5 separate regions of the Homo sapiens genome follow, and all the other regions are linked to region 5. The links are contacts of gene promoters, found by promoter capture Hi-C in blood cells and fetal thymus (Javierre and others, 2016). All regions are on one chromosome and are shown on one strand. Each heading gives the region's core, a stretch centred on a gene start or on the middle of the fragment in contact. The rest is flanking DNA. Distances are from core to core; before and after follow the strand shown. Region 1 overlaps SUFU (SUFU negative regulator of hedgehog signaling). Region 2 overlaps SUFU (SUFU negative regulator of hedgehog signaling). Region 3 overlaps SUFU (SUFU negative regulator of hedgehog signaling). Region 4 holds the start of CUEDC2 (CUE domain containing 2). Region 5 holds the start of NOLC1 (nucleolar and coiled-body phosphoprotein 1).

Evidence for each region. Contacts are between HindIII fragments. The CHiCAGO score rates a contact against its expected background, and 5 or more counts as called.
Region 1: a contact is called between a fragment that was not itself captured here and the fragment with the promoter of NOLC1 in region 5, in 1 of 17 cell types (naive CD8 T cells). The highest score is 5.2, in naive CD8 T cells.
Region 2: a fragment that was not itself captured here is called in contact with the fragment with the promoter of NOLC1 in region 5 in 1 of 17 cell types (activated CD4 T cells); the score reaches 6.4 in activated CD4 T cells.
Region 3: a fragment that was not itself captured here is called in contact with the fragment with the promoter of NOLC1 in region 5 in 4 of 17 cell types (activated CD4 T cells, total CD8 T cells, erythroblasts and 1 more); the score reaches 6.2 in activated CD4 T cells.
Region 4: the fragment with the promoter of CUEDC2 here is called in contact with the fragment with the promoter of NOLC1 in region 5 in 1 of 17 cell types (endothelial precursors); the score reaches 5.1 in endothelial precursors.

Annotation. Positions count from the first base shown.
Region 1 is chr10:102,524,926-102,527,625 of GRCh38, reverse strand. The region is part of intron 2 of SUFU (SUFU negative regulator of hedgehog signaling); the gene reads right to left. Among named protein-coding and RNA genes, the nearest start is that of SUFU, 22 kb to the right of the region's middle. The HindIII fragment of the contact is 5,320 bases long and covers 1-2,700 here.
Region 2 is chr10:102,505,309-102,508,008 of GRCh38, reverse strand. All of the region lies in intron 1 of SUFU (SUFU negative regulator of hedgehog signaling), which reads right to left. Among named protein-coding and RNA genes, the nearest start is that of SUFU, 2.7 kb to the right of the region's middle. RefSeq lists an enhancer at 2,350-2,700. The HindIII fragment of the contact is 937 bases long and covers 821-1,757 here.
Region 3 is chr10:102,599,383-102,602,082 of GRCh38, reverse strand. It overlaps SUFU (SUFU negative regulator of hedgehog signaling), which reads right to left. Exons shown (of 12, transcript NM_016169.4): 8 at 2,539-2,650. Among named protein-coding and RNA genes, the nearest start is that of TRIM8-DT, 42 kb to the left of the region's middle. RefSeq lists an enhancer at 1,581-2,331. The HindIII fragment of the contact is 3,650 bases long and covers 1-2,700 here.
Region 4 is chr10:102,431,150-102,433,849 of GRCh38, reverse strand. CUEDC2 (CUE domain containing 2) reads left to right here and starts at 1,276. Exons shown (of 9, transcript NM_024040.3): 1 at 1,276-1,324. RefSeq lists enhancers at 1-274, 275-910, 842-1,011, 1,182-1,311. The HindIII fragment of the contact is 11,516 bases long and covers 1-2,700 here.
Region 5 is chr10:102,151,128-102,153,827 of GRCh38, reverse strand. NOLC1 (nucleolar and coiled-body phosphoprotein 1) reads right to left here and starts at 1,439. Exons shown (of 13, transcript NM_004741.5): 1 at 1,298-1,439. The coding sequence starts at 1,417. RefSeq lists enhancers at 1,329-1,378, 1,549-1,848, 754-1,953. The HindIII fragment of the contact is 8,659 bases long and covers 1-2,700 here.

The DNA of each region.
Region 1 (2,700 bases), core at 189-2,688, 370 kb before region 5:
TTCAACAAGATAAGATGGTATTAAAAAGCAATGTGCCTCCCTCTTAGTCACTATCAAAGTAGATTCAAATATCTTCATGGCTTTGAATGTCATGATGTACTATAAATATACATATATATATATATATCTTAATGGTATTTCCTTTGAGCCACTTTTGCTACTATTTCCTTTTTGGGGAAATAAAACCGTCACTCAACTCAGTTCTCCTGTCTTCATACTAAAGCTGAGGTCCCACACTGGAATGCTTCCTAAAACCCCACTCCAGCCTCCATCATATCATCCTTTTTCTTTCCTCATCAGTCAACAAATAATTTATTGAATGTCGGCCGGGCGCGGTGGCTCACGCCTGTAATCCCAGCACTCTGGGAGGCCAAGGTGGGCGGATCACAAGGTCAGGAGATCGAGACCATCCTGGCTAACACGGTGAAACCCTGTCTCTACTAAAAATACAAAAAGTTAGCCAGGCGTGGTGGTGGGTGCCTGTGGTCCCAGCTACTTGGGAGGCTGAGGCAGGAGAATGGCATGACACCAGAAGGCGGAGCTTGCAGTGAGCTGAGATCGCACCACTGCCACTGCACTCCAGCCTGGGCGACAGAGCGAGACTCCATCTCAAAAAAAAAAAAAAAAAAAAACAATAATAATAATTATAATTTATTGAATGTCACATTCTTTACATTGTCTTCAAACTCTGCAACCTCATCTTGTTCCACTGTTCTCTCTTACCAAGCCTCAGATGCACTGGCCTTCTTTCTTTTCCTTAAACACTTCGAGGTCCGTGCTGCCCTCAGGGCCTTTATACTAGCTGTTTCACTGCCTAGGACCTTCATCAGGACTCCCAGCATTGTACAACTCCAGGGGGCAGCAATTGCACAGAATAATGTGAACGGTGGCCCTAGAGTTGTACAATGTGACAGCCCTGGCTGCCACCGGTCTTTGAGGTCTCAGTTCAAATCTTCAAGGAAGCCATCACTGATTACTGCTAACAGCATCCTCCCCACCCACCTCAACCACTACTTCTACCCATGTAAGCTCCAGAGTACCATCCCTGCTTTTTTAATTTTATTTATTTTTTTAAGACAGGGTCTCACTCTGTCACCTAGGCTGGAGTGCAGTGGCACGATCTTGGCTCACTGCAGCCTCTGCCTCCTGGGCTCAAGCGATCCTCCCACCTCAGCCTCCCAAGTAGCTGGGACTACAGGCACGCACCACCATGCCTGACTAATTTTTGTATTTTTTGTAGAGATGGGGTTTCACCACATTGCCCAGGCTGCTCTCGAACTCCTGGCTCAAGTGATCCACCCCCCCGTGGCCTCCCAAAGTGCTGGGATTAGAGGCATGAGTCACCACACTTGGCGCCCTGCTTTACTTTCATTTTTTTAAGAGACAGGGTCTCCCCATGTTGCCCAGGCTGGCGTGCAGTGGCTATTCACAGGCACAATCCCACTACTGATCAGCACAGGAGTTTTGACCTACTGGGCCAGGTCACCCCTCCTTAGGCAACCTGGTGGTCCCATGCTCCTGGGAGGTCACCATATTGATGCTGAACTTAGTGTGGACACCTGACTGGCATAGTGCATAATAGCCCAGAACTCCTGAGCTCAAGTGATCCTCCCACCTCAGCCTCCTGAGTAGCTGGGGCCCTGCTTTATTTTCAACACAGCACTTGTACTATCTAAAACTATATAAAATTTTTCATGTTTCTCCAATAAGAATATAAGATTCATGAGAGCAGAAACCTTGCCTGCTTTGCTTTCCATGGTATCCTCAGCACTAAGAAAGCACTGGATATTTAGGTAATGTGCTCTAAAAATTTATGAAAATAGGCCAGGTGCAGTGGCTCATGCATGTAATCCTAGCACTTTGGGACACCGAGGCAGGTGGATCACCTGAGGTCAGGAGTTCAAGACCAGCCTGGCCAACATGGCAAAACCCCATCTTTACTAAAAATACAAGAAACTAGTTGGGCATGGTACTGCGTGCCTGTAATCCCAGCTACTCAGGAGACTGAGGCAGGAGAATCGCTGGAACCTAGGAGGCAGAGGTTGCAGTGAACTGAGATCGCAAGATCGCACCACTACACTCCAGCCTGGGCGACAGAGCAAGGGTCCATCTCAAACCAAACAAAAAAAGAAAATAAATTAAGTGCTTGACACATACTAAGCACTGTGCCAGTTGCTGGGATGGAGGTACTCCCTCACCTCATAAAGCAAGGTTCAGGCCAGATACGGTGGCTCATGCTTATAATCTCAGCACTTTGGGAGGCTGATGTGGGCAGATCACTTAAGGCCGGGAGTTTGAGGCCAGCCTGGCCAACATGGCAAAACCCCATCTCTACTAAAAATACAAAAATTAGCCAGGCGTGGTAGCGTGCCCTGTAATCCCAGCTACTTGGGAGGCTGAGGCAGGAGGATCACTTGAACCCAGGAGGTGGAGGTTGCAGTGAGCCGAGATTACACTACCGCACTCCAGCCTGGGCGACAGAGAGAGACTCCGTCTCAAAAATAAAAAATAAAATAAAATAAAATAAAATAAAGCAAGGTTCAGACAATTTTTCCAAAATCACATACCTCCTCCCACAGAAGGGTTCTGACTCCTATGAAAATGCCCTTGGAATGTCTCCTCTCCTATGGGAATAAGGGTCCAAACTGAAGAAGTGCTCTTGAATGAGCTAAAAGCTCGGGCTTGGTGCTGGGCCAGGAG
Region 2 (2,700 bases), core at 40-2,539, 350 kb before region 5:
GGGTGACAGAGTGAGACTTTGTCTAAAAAAAAAAAAAAAAAAAAAAATGGATAAGAAATTTTGGTAGCTAGAGAAATAGACCAAATAGAAACCATCAGTGGAAGGAAGTCTGCATTTAGCCCACAAACACGGCATTTGAGCTGCCTCAAACATCTGACCATTCCACAGACTGCAAAAGCTTCACCTGCCCCTGGGACATCGATGGAGTACACTTTGCAACTGGGATAGCATGCTGGTGGAAAGCTAACAACCAAATAAAAGACATGTTACAAGTGATCCCAGTCAATGGTGCCAGCACCAGGCAATTTAAACACTATTTAAAACCAGTTGGTCTTGTTTCGTCCTCTTTCACCAGGATATTATTTGCCTTTGTGGATAGAAATCCCTATTCTCTGTTAGGAAATGCTAAGTTATTTATAGAACTTTTAAGAAAGTTGCTACAAATAGCTTAGCATCTCAACAGAGGAAGAGGGACAACTCTCCATGTCTGCCTTAACTGATTTCAACAAATCACTTGACTAATTCTACAACAGGTTGGATTTAGAAAAGTTTGTGGGGCAAGGGAAGAAAGAAAAGAGTAGAGATCCCTGGAAAGACCCCATTAGAGCTACAGAACTCCAGAGCAGATGAGAGCCACTACAGGCCCCATACCTGCTCCAGTTTCCTGCTGCAAATTTCCAAACCTGCCCCGCTACAGCCTAGGTCCATCCTGCACCAAGCTGCAAAACTGTGTTTACCATTCTCTGCTCCATCTGCAGCATCCCTGCAGCCCTCTTTCTCACCAAGTCTCCCACAAGGTGTCACATCAAGGAGAGAAGCTTAACCTTCAAACTCCAACTGCAAGGAACTACCAAGAGTCAGATAAAATTAACCCTGTCCCCAAGCACAGAGTATTCTGTTTACTTACTACTCAGAGGCCAGATGAGTATGTGGAAAAAAATCGCATTTTACACTTAGCAAATGATGTTATCCAAGGTCCCAGGGCATCCCTCAACTTAATTCCTTGAACACCCAACTTCTCTCTGCAGGGCAGTTGCAGGACTGAAGTGGGCCATGAGTACAGGTTCTGCCTCTCTGCTTTGATCCTTGCTCACCAAAGTCTCAGCTTTCAGTTAGAATGTCCCCACTACTCAGGGATCACCAGTCACAGAGCCACACTGCTATTGCAAAATGAATCCCAAGCTACCCTGGGCCACAGACAGACCCAGACAGCCTGGGTCAGTCATCCTGCTAGAAACCTCGTGGGATCCCAAATGTGAGGAATATAAATGAATTTCAGGATCTTATTTTTGCAAACCCCTCCACATCTTAGAAAGTACCAGTCACTGATGGCTGGTCGCACTGGCTCACGCCTGTAATCCTAGCACTTTGGGAGGCCGAGGTGGGTTGATCACTTGAGGTCAGGAGTTCGAGACCAGCCTGGCCAACATGGTGAAACTCTGCCTCTACTAAAAATACAAAAATTAGCTGGGCAAGGTGGCGTGTGCCTGTAATATCAGCTACTTGGGAGGCTGAGGCACGAGAATCGCTTGAAACCGGGAGACAGAGGTTGCAGTAAGCCAAGATCGTGCCACTGCACTCCAGCCTGGGTGACAGAGCAAAACTCTGTCTCAAAAAAAAAAGAAAGTACCAGTCACTGTGCTGTTTCTCTTTATACTTTTCTGCATCTAGGAAGGGCTTTCACAAAGTGCTGTATAATCCCTTTTCTTCATTATCACATGTTGGCCCATCTCTGAAGATATGGCTGTTAACAAGCTTGCAGCAGGAAGGAAAAAAAAATTGCCCTTAGTCCTTTGCACATGCTTTCATACCTTTTACATACAATTCTATCCTTTATGGCTACTTGGGTGACATAAAAATAGTTGCCTGAATCTGTGTAGGGATTTCTCCTCACACTCAAATGAGGCCTGAACAAACAGCGTGGCAGAGCCAGGCCCACTTCTTTTTTTTTTTTTTTTTTTTTTTTTTTCAAATAACAGAGTTAGGGTCTGGCTACGCTCCCCACACTGGTCTCGAACTCCTGGCCTCAAGGGATCCTCAAGGCCTCCCAAAGTGGTGGGAATACATGCATGAGCCACTGTGCCCAGCCCAGGCCCACTTTTCTCCTGACACATGACAACAAGTTCATCACAACACATAGTTAAATATAAAGGCACAATGAGAATGGGTCATTAAGCTAGCAAGAGCTGCTTTCCACTCAGAAGCGCTCTTCAACAACTCCTCTCAACCAGAGAACAGTTCGCCAGTGAGAGAGGACTGCGACACCAGTTCCACCTCCTCCCGTCTACTCTGACAGAGGAGGCTGTTCCCTACAATCCTCCCTAGACAGCAGGTGGCTGGTCCCCAGGCTCTCCACGCTGTTGGCCTCTTGGCATCCTCCCATTGATGCGGGCAGCTGGCCTCAGCCCTGCACAGCCTACTGACACCGATGTCCAGGGGAAGCAACAGGTTTTCACCAGGAGGAAGACTCAGTCCTAAAAGGAGAGGTAACCAGCAAAGATGTCCACTTGCCCCTTCAGGTCTACCCTTTGGCTACACCCCCAAGCAGCTGCAGAACAGTCTTTCAAGACTCATTGAAGATCATCTTACACAATGCCTGCATGAATGTGGTCCTGGACAGTTTCAACCAATATCTCAGTTTTTGGTCCAGCAAGACTTTGAGGACAGGTTCTTTTCCAGAGTCCCCAGAACATCTGTTCT
Region 3 (2,700 bases), core at 201-2,700, 450 kb before region 5:
CTGCTGCTGAAGTGTGAAAAGAGCAAGTGCTTGACACCCCCAAGTAGGCCGGCACCCGGCTGCTATTGCCCAGGCTTGATCAGCTGCTCTGAGCCTCTGATTTAGCTCTGTATCTTCCTTAGACCACAGACAAACCCGCGAAGACCCATGCATAAGAGCTCCCTGGCCCAGAAGTCCTGACTAAGGGGAAATCAGACCCGCAGACAAAATATGGCCCACGCTGGCTGCCCCCCAACAGGGAGAGGAGCAAACACTGGTGCCAGCACATTTTGGGTCAGCTTTCTCAGTTGCAATCCATGTGGTGTATGTGAAATGGGGTCAGGTCCCAGAGTGGGCAGCACAGATATTACCGTCACGCTCACTGATCTGAACTGAGTCCATCATCATCGATCCTGAGATAACAGGAAACTTGAGTCTGACAGGCTTGAGGGGTGTGTTGGAGAATGTTCTTGGCAAAGGAGGAGGAGAAACCATTTCTCAACCAATTGCTAACAAATTGGTAACCAATACTGACAGCCTCAGAGGAAACATTCTATTCCCCTCAGACTACAGGTCCTGGTGCTTTAGAGACCTTACTGGGCACTAAACCTTCAGGAAGGGGAGACAACCCCGGCACCTCGAATCTATTCTCACCCATCTCTCTGTATCTCAGCCAACTCAAGCCAAAGGGTAGAAGCTGCAGCCTCTCTGCCTTATGTTTACAGAGAACCCTTGGGCCAGAACCAATACCCGACTGCCCAGTTAGGGTGTAGGCTGAGAGTCTCGGCTTATGTGTATATCTAGGAGCACAGAGCCTTGTGCCCCATTGCAATGTCCAGGGGTGCAGTAGCTGGAAGTGCCCCCAAGCCAGGGAGTGAGATCTCAGGCCTGTTCCAGATACACAAGCGGGGCAAGAAGGTTGTATCTCTGCAGGAGCTTGTGCCCTTCTGCCTAGAAACCCCAGGCTTCCAGAGGCAGAGAGCCATCTGGACTGAGACTGTGTCCATGTTATAGGCCTTCCAGTACCTCTGGCCTGCCAACAGTGCCAAGGAGGCCCAAAGCGAGAAGCCAAGCTCAGGGAATGGGAAGGAGTGTAGACCCGGGACAGGGTCCAGACTCACAGGTAGAGAGCTTCCATATGTCGTATGACCTGGTGTGGCCATCTGCTGCTGCCAGGGGATGATCAGGATGCCTCCAGCCAGCTACTTCAGGGCAGCTGGCTGGAGAAACCTACAGGCCGGAGTTAAAAGCTGCTCTGAGGTGGCGGTGGAGGCTTCTCCAGGCTTTTGCCAAAGAGCTCAACTCTCAGTACAGCCCTGTTCCCAGAGTAACTCTAGTTCCAGTCAGGTCCCAGCAGGCAGCCTCAACTTTAACCAGCCAGGCCTCCCCTGTGCTATCCTCTTGAGTTCCTTCCCCTGCTTATTAAAATTCTAAGGTGCCCTCAAGGTCGATGCTATGTTCTTCCTCCTCCAAGATGCCCTCCCTAACTACCCCAGATCCTGTGGACCTGTCTTTTCTGTAGTGCACTGAAGCATTACTACTTCTGGGAAACACGATCAGCAACTAGAGCTAGAATCCAGAGAAGCAGCCATTTCCAACAAATCACATCGACAGCCAGATGCACACCATTAAAAGGTAACTGTTTCACTCATGTTCTCCCAAAGGAAGAGCCTGTGCACCCCAGATGGCCCCCTAGGTCCGAGCTTGTCAGACAGCAAATGTGTAATAAAGACTTCATAGAAGAAGGCTAGATCACCCTGGTCTTGCAGGATGATCAACCTCCCTTTCAGCCCAAGGCACAGCAATTTCCTCCCTGGCAGGCAAGGTTCCTGCTTTGGGCTGCCAGCCCCCAGGTATCTCCTGCCAGCAGCTATTCCCTAGAGCTGCCCTGGGACTAAGGGCAGAGGGGGGTGCCCAGCTTCAGCCCTGCCTATCACTCATCCCCTCTATCAGAGGAAGAGAGGTTGGCAGGAAGCGGATCTGACCTCTAGGGTGGCCACAGTCTCTCCGGAGGGCTACAGGGGCCCCTGGACAGGCAGCAGAGGCCTGCAAAAGACTTCCTTTCCCTTCCCTGGGCCCCAGGGAAGAGAGGCAGGAAGAAGGGCCTCAGCCACAGGCATCCAGTATGGGGCTGGCCAGAGAGGGAGGCCCCCAGGGTTGCAGCTATCAGCCGGAGACCAGGCTCCAGGAAGGAAGGAAGGGCAACTCTGGCCAAGACTGAGATAAGGAGGGAACCGTGCTCAGCACAATGGGCTCCCACAAGGCTGGGAGGCCCCAAGTCAGATTTCTCCCCAACCTGGCCTCCTGTCTGTTCACACGGCTCATGTAAATATTTACTGATGTTAATATTCACGGTCTGCTGGGTCCCCTCTGAGGCCCTCTCCTATGACCCACAGATAGATCTGTGTGCCCCAGACCATGCCTGCCCTTAAGCCTAGAGATCCTGGGCCCATCCAGCAAGGGCTATGTGCATTGTTCTCTCTCATGCAATCCACAGGGACAGGCCCTTCAGAAAAAAGTCGTCCTCTTGTTCCAGCCCAGGGACACTGGGGAACTTACGGGGCCCGGTCGTGGGCGAGGCCATTCTGCCGCTGAGGGTTGATTGGTGGAAGGACAGGTTTGCTGTTGATCTCGAGTCCTCTCCTCAGGGTCTCCCGGATCTGCTCTGTGTCTGCAACGACACCACTAAGTTGCCCAGTGGCCCAGTGGGCTCCCAGCAAT
Region 4 (2,700 bases), core at 27-2,526, 280 kb before region 5:
CAGGGCAGCACCGGGAATCTGTGGCAGCAGGAACAAAAAGAGGAAGTTGAAGTCTTGTTGGGCCCTGGAGTTCAGCTCTCCTGTCCTAGACAAGCAGCCCTGCCAACATGGGGGATGAAGGCCCCGGGGGGTAGGCATGGTCTACAGGCTGTCCATGACAGGGCTCAGGTGGATCCTCATCCTGGCACCTGCTACCACTCCACCTCTCCCAGACCACGTCCAAAATCCCAGGCTCCACCCTCCGGAGACACAGACCTGTAGCTCACCCCAATCTAGGGGAGACATTGCTGTTAAGGGAATGCAAAAGGTACAGACAGGGTGGGGAAGTCAGTACCTAAGAGACCAGCCTGGGCCACGTGGCAAAAACCCTGTCTCTACAAAAAAAAAAAAAAAAAAAAAAATTAGCTCGGCGTGGTGGCACGCGCCTGTGGTTCCAGCTACTCCAGAGGCTGAGATGGGAGGATCACTTGAACCCAGGAGGTCGGGGCTGCAGTGAGCCATGTTCGCACTCGTGAACCTGCACTCCAGCCTGGGGCTGTAACAGCAAGAAAAGAAGAAAAAGAAAGAGAAGGAAGGAAGGGAGGGAGGGAAAGAAAGGAAAATAAAGAAAGAAGAAAAGAAAAGAGGCCAGGCGCGGTGGCTCATGCCTGTAATCCCAGCACTTTGGGAGGCCGAGGCAGGCGAATCACGAGGTCAGGAGTTTGAGACCAGCCTGGCCAACATGGTGAAACCCCGTTTCTACTAAAAATACAATAAATTATCTGGGCGTGGTGGCGCGCGCCTGTAATCCCAGCTACTCGGGAGGCTGAGGCAGGAGAATCTCTTGAACCCGGGAGGCGGAGGTTGCAGTGAGCCGAGATCGCGCCACTGCACTCCAGCCCGGGAGACAGTGCGAGGCTCCCTCCCAAAAAAAAAAAAGAAGAAGAAAAGGAAAAAAAAGTGAGAGAGAGAGAGAGAGAGAGACGAGAAAAAGAGAGAGAGAAAGAAAGAGAAAGGTTTCGGGTCTCTGACGGATGAGAAGGAACAAGACGGGGATGCAGTCCTACCCACTTCGACTCCACCCCCTCTCAAGACCTTCACGCCTAACGCCTCCCTACGCGCAACAAAACTGGCCGCCAAGGGAGCCCGTCCATAGCCCTGGGACGTTAGAGAATTAGAGCAGGAGCTCCGCCCTGTTGTGGGCAACTTGCCCTTCTCAAACATGGCCGCCACGGCGCCTCTGGAAGGGAACCGCTCTGGGCCCCGCCTTTGATCTCGTTGGTGGGGCTGGGGGATGAGAGCTGCACCGCGCGGGACAAGTCGCCGGCGGCGCCCGACGGAGCAGGTGATTTCCCCTCCTGCCCCCGGCCCAGGGCTAGGAGAGTCGCGGAGAGCGCTGACCCAGGGTACCCGTCCGATGTGTTCCCCCACGGTACCCCCCCCGGGGCCCGTCGGACCCCCATCTCTGATTCTCGCCGTGGCCTGTATCAAGGCACATCCAGTTTGCTCAGGCCTGCCTCGTCATGTGTCCTCCAAGGCCACAGCCGCATCCCTGTGCCTTCGGGCCCACTATTCTGGACGCTTACGGGTGTCCCGCTAGCGGGTTTAGGGAGCTGCTGCTTCAGGGGTCGTCCATCATCGCGGTCCCACTTCCTGTGCTCGCCCTCCCTGTTTGTGCTCCCGCCTGACTTTGGATGCAGGGATCCCTTGTTCCCCTCAATGCCCTTGGTGCCTCTAAGGTCTGACTTGGGTATCAGAGGACAATGATATCCTCTGGGGCCTGCGTTATGGGTCCAGGGCCTCAGGAACCGGGCTTCACAGGGGCTGGGAGAAGCAGTGAAGACCTTCCATGCTAGACCCCTTGCTGCCTCCCTGAGAAGTTCGCTAGGACTCCTTTCACACTAGCTCCCAGGATTCCTCCTCCCACATGGCCTGCTCTCCCTCCACTTTAAGCACCTCCCCACCCCAAGGGAGCAGCATAGTACTTCTTACCCCACTCTCACTTAAATTTGTCCACAGTGTCTCTATCTAGCATCTGGAGGGTCCAGGCCTGTGCTGCCCTTGGGAAGCTCCCAGGCTAGCTGGGAGCAGTGAAGGTGGGGCAGTTAGGGTTGGCTGCAGAAAGGGAGTCCTGCAGAATGAGATTTGGAGAGGCAGAGGGACAGATGCTCTGGGCTGGGAGAGTGGTGTGAGCAAAGATTCTGAAATAGACAATATAGCCAGCCAGGCAGGAGAGGAGATTCAGAATATAGGATGGGGCCACACAATTTGCATCGTGAGAGGTGATGTAGTGTGGTGGTTAACAGTGAGGGTTCTGGATCCAGACAGCCTGGGTGTAAATCTGCCATTAACTTGCCTTGTGACCTTGGGCAAGTTACTTAACCTCATAGTGCCTTCATTTCCTTTCAGGTAAAATGTGGATAATACGGCCGGGCGCGGTGGTTCATGCCTGTAATCCCAGCACTTTGGGAGACCGAGGCGGGTGGATTGCCTGAGGTCAGGAGTTCGAGACCAGTCTGGCCAACATGGTGAAACCCCGTCTCTACTAAAAAATACAAAATAAATTTGCCAGGCATGGTGGCATGCGACTGTAATCCCAGCTACTCAGGAGGCTGAGGCAGGGGAATTGCTTGAACCAGGGAGGTGGAGGTTGCAGTGAGCTGAGATCGCACCACTGCACTCCAGCCTGGATGGCAGAGCGAGACTCCGTCTCAAAAATAC
Region 5 (2,700 bases), core at 190-2,689:
GGTGGTACGCGCCTGTAATCCCAGCTACTGGGGAGGCTGAGGCAGGATAATCACTTGAACTTGGGAGGCGGAGGTTACAATGAGCCGAGATCGCACCATTGCACTCCAGCCTGGGCAACAGAGACTCCGTCTCAAAAAAAAAAAAAAAAAAAAAAGAATCCTAATTCTGAAATGTCCAATTCCATCCAGTCCACTGTGAAAGCACTCTCCGCAGTCTCCTTAACAGTCAACTCTAAACAGTTTCATTAAGAAAGCAGTTAGATCACATGGCAGCCTGTCCCAGCTTAAGGAAGTTTTGAGGCTGATCTGATTCTTTGCTTTCGCAGCCTGATTCTGCTAAAAGTGCAAGCCATCCTTCCTAGTCATGCTATCATCCCTGCTGAAGACCCCCCCTCTCTCCTCTCTCAAAGTGTCTTCCCATGCAGGAATGTCCGTTGATGTAGATTACAAACCTTTCACATTCCTGGTTCTCTTACTCTTACATGTGTTTGGAGCATCCTAAATTGCCATAACTATGGTACAGCTTTCACTTTTACAAGATTCCTCTGTACCAGCACTGAGATTGCTACTCTTACACATCATCTTACTGAAACTCACAAAAATCCTATAAAGTGGATGATGACATCCCTGTAGAAAGACTCAGAAAGGTTAAATAAACTGCCCGGGTCACGTATCTAAAAAGTGGCAGAGCCTGGTCCCAAACCTAGGTTTGTTTGATTCAATTAGCCAAAGCTCCAAGCCCACTACTATGCCTACTTGGTAGGGCTGTTGATGACTCTCAATTCTCAGTGTAACTCAAAACAAAACTCTGCTTCTACTTTCATTCATTTTCTTCTTTACAAACGAAAATCCCAGACTTCATTCTAAAGAAATTTCACTTGCTTTTGAATCCCAGTAAATGTGACTGAGGCTAAGGTCAAATCACGGTTTGCCTCACCCAACGAAAAGCCCCCCAGAAGATGCCGAAGAACCAACGTCCTCAGTGGAACAAGACTCTACCTCCCCGCTGCACTCTGCCAGCCATGTGGCTTGGGGCCACGAGGCTCCCACGCTGCCGCCGCTGCACAGGTCACAAGAAAAAAGCAACAAGACTCAGCGATATCTACTCAGACATGGAGGAAGGTAAGCGACCGAGGCCGCAGGCTTTCTCTGGTCACTGCCGAGGGGTCGGCGTAAAGGCCTTGCAGACACTGGACTGGCGGACCCCCAGACTTCCCCACCTGGAAACCTAAGCACGTCAGGGCCTGAAGCCTTGTGGTCATCTCAGCCCGGTCCCCGCCCCAAGCCCGGAACTCACAGCTCCTGTCGCTTTGGCGAACTTATTGGCCACCTCTGAGAGTTGGTTATCGCGCAGGAAGCCGAGCACGAGGGGATACAGGTCGCTGGGAACCACGCGGCGAATGCCGGCGTCCGCCATCCTCCAGGCAATACGCGTCACTACCGTTGTCGACGCAGCACGACTCAGGAACCCAACAGGGGCAGTGGGCGGGCCTGTGTTACGTCATTGCGCCGCGCGGGCGCATAACGGAAAGGGTGGGCTCCACAGGGCAGTCCCACCTTCACCTCAGAGGTAGGGTAGACGGGAAATCTATAAACTCTTTCCGGTCCCACGCGTATCGCCATCTTGGTTAAGGGCGGAGCCCACCGGCCGCCAGCTTGTGGAGGCGGAGCTCTGACGTCAGGGATCACGCCCTCGGCGTGGCGGGAAAACTCGGGACTTCCCGCGCAGTCTTTCTGGGGGAGGTACCTTTTCTCAGAGCAGCGGTTTCCCGCGCCCCTGCTGGGACTCGGATTCCAGAGTAATGAGTGGACAAGCGGGCTCGAACAGTTGTTCTACAAGATCTCCCAACCGCCCCCATGGCGTACTGGCACGGCCAATGGATTCTCGCCCTTCATCTTCACTGCCTCCAATACCCAGGGAGGCCCTTTCTGATACCATCCCAGCCTCCAGACTCCTGCCTCTGCTGCAGAAGATCCTTCGGGTTATCCGTCGTGAGGGTGGGAGGTGTTGATTTCCCAAGCTGCCCCTCCCATCTCCCTTATATTCCGCCTTAGGTCAGCTCCATGAAGAGGAAAGGTGTCATGCACCAAACCTGAATCACACACAGCAACAATCTATTCAAGCTGAAGAGATTGTTGAAAATAACCCTTCTTCCTCCGGGATCAGAGTTCACACTCTGCCTTTGTCATGAGTAACTCCAGTATCAATGCCTTTGTCATGAGTAACTCCAGTATCAATGCTCAGACCTACCAAGTTAATTCCAAGTTCTGCCACATTCCAGATATTAGCAGTTAGCAATCCCTTCAATCCTACCCACTACCCCTTGGCTACCTCCCACTAATGCCGCTCAGGAAAGATAAGGATCCTCATGGGAACACACCCCCCTCTCCTATATAAAATTGGCCAGGCATAGTGGCTCACAACTGTTATCTCAACACTTTGGAAGGCCTAGGTGGGAGGATCCCTTGAGCCCAGGAGTTAAGAGGCCAGCCTGGACAACACAGTGAAACCCCCCTATCTCTACAAAAAATTTTTAAAATTAGCCAGGTGTAGTGGCATGCACCTGTGGTCCCAGCTACTTGGGAGGCTGGGGCAGGAGGATCAACTGAGCCAGGGAGGTCAAAGCTGCAATGAGCTATGATCCTGCCACTGCAATCCAGCCTGGGCCACAGAGTGAGATCCTATCTCAAAAATCAAAA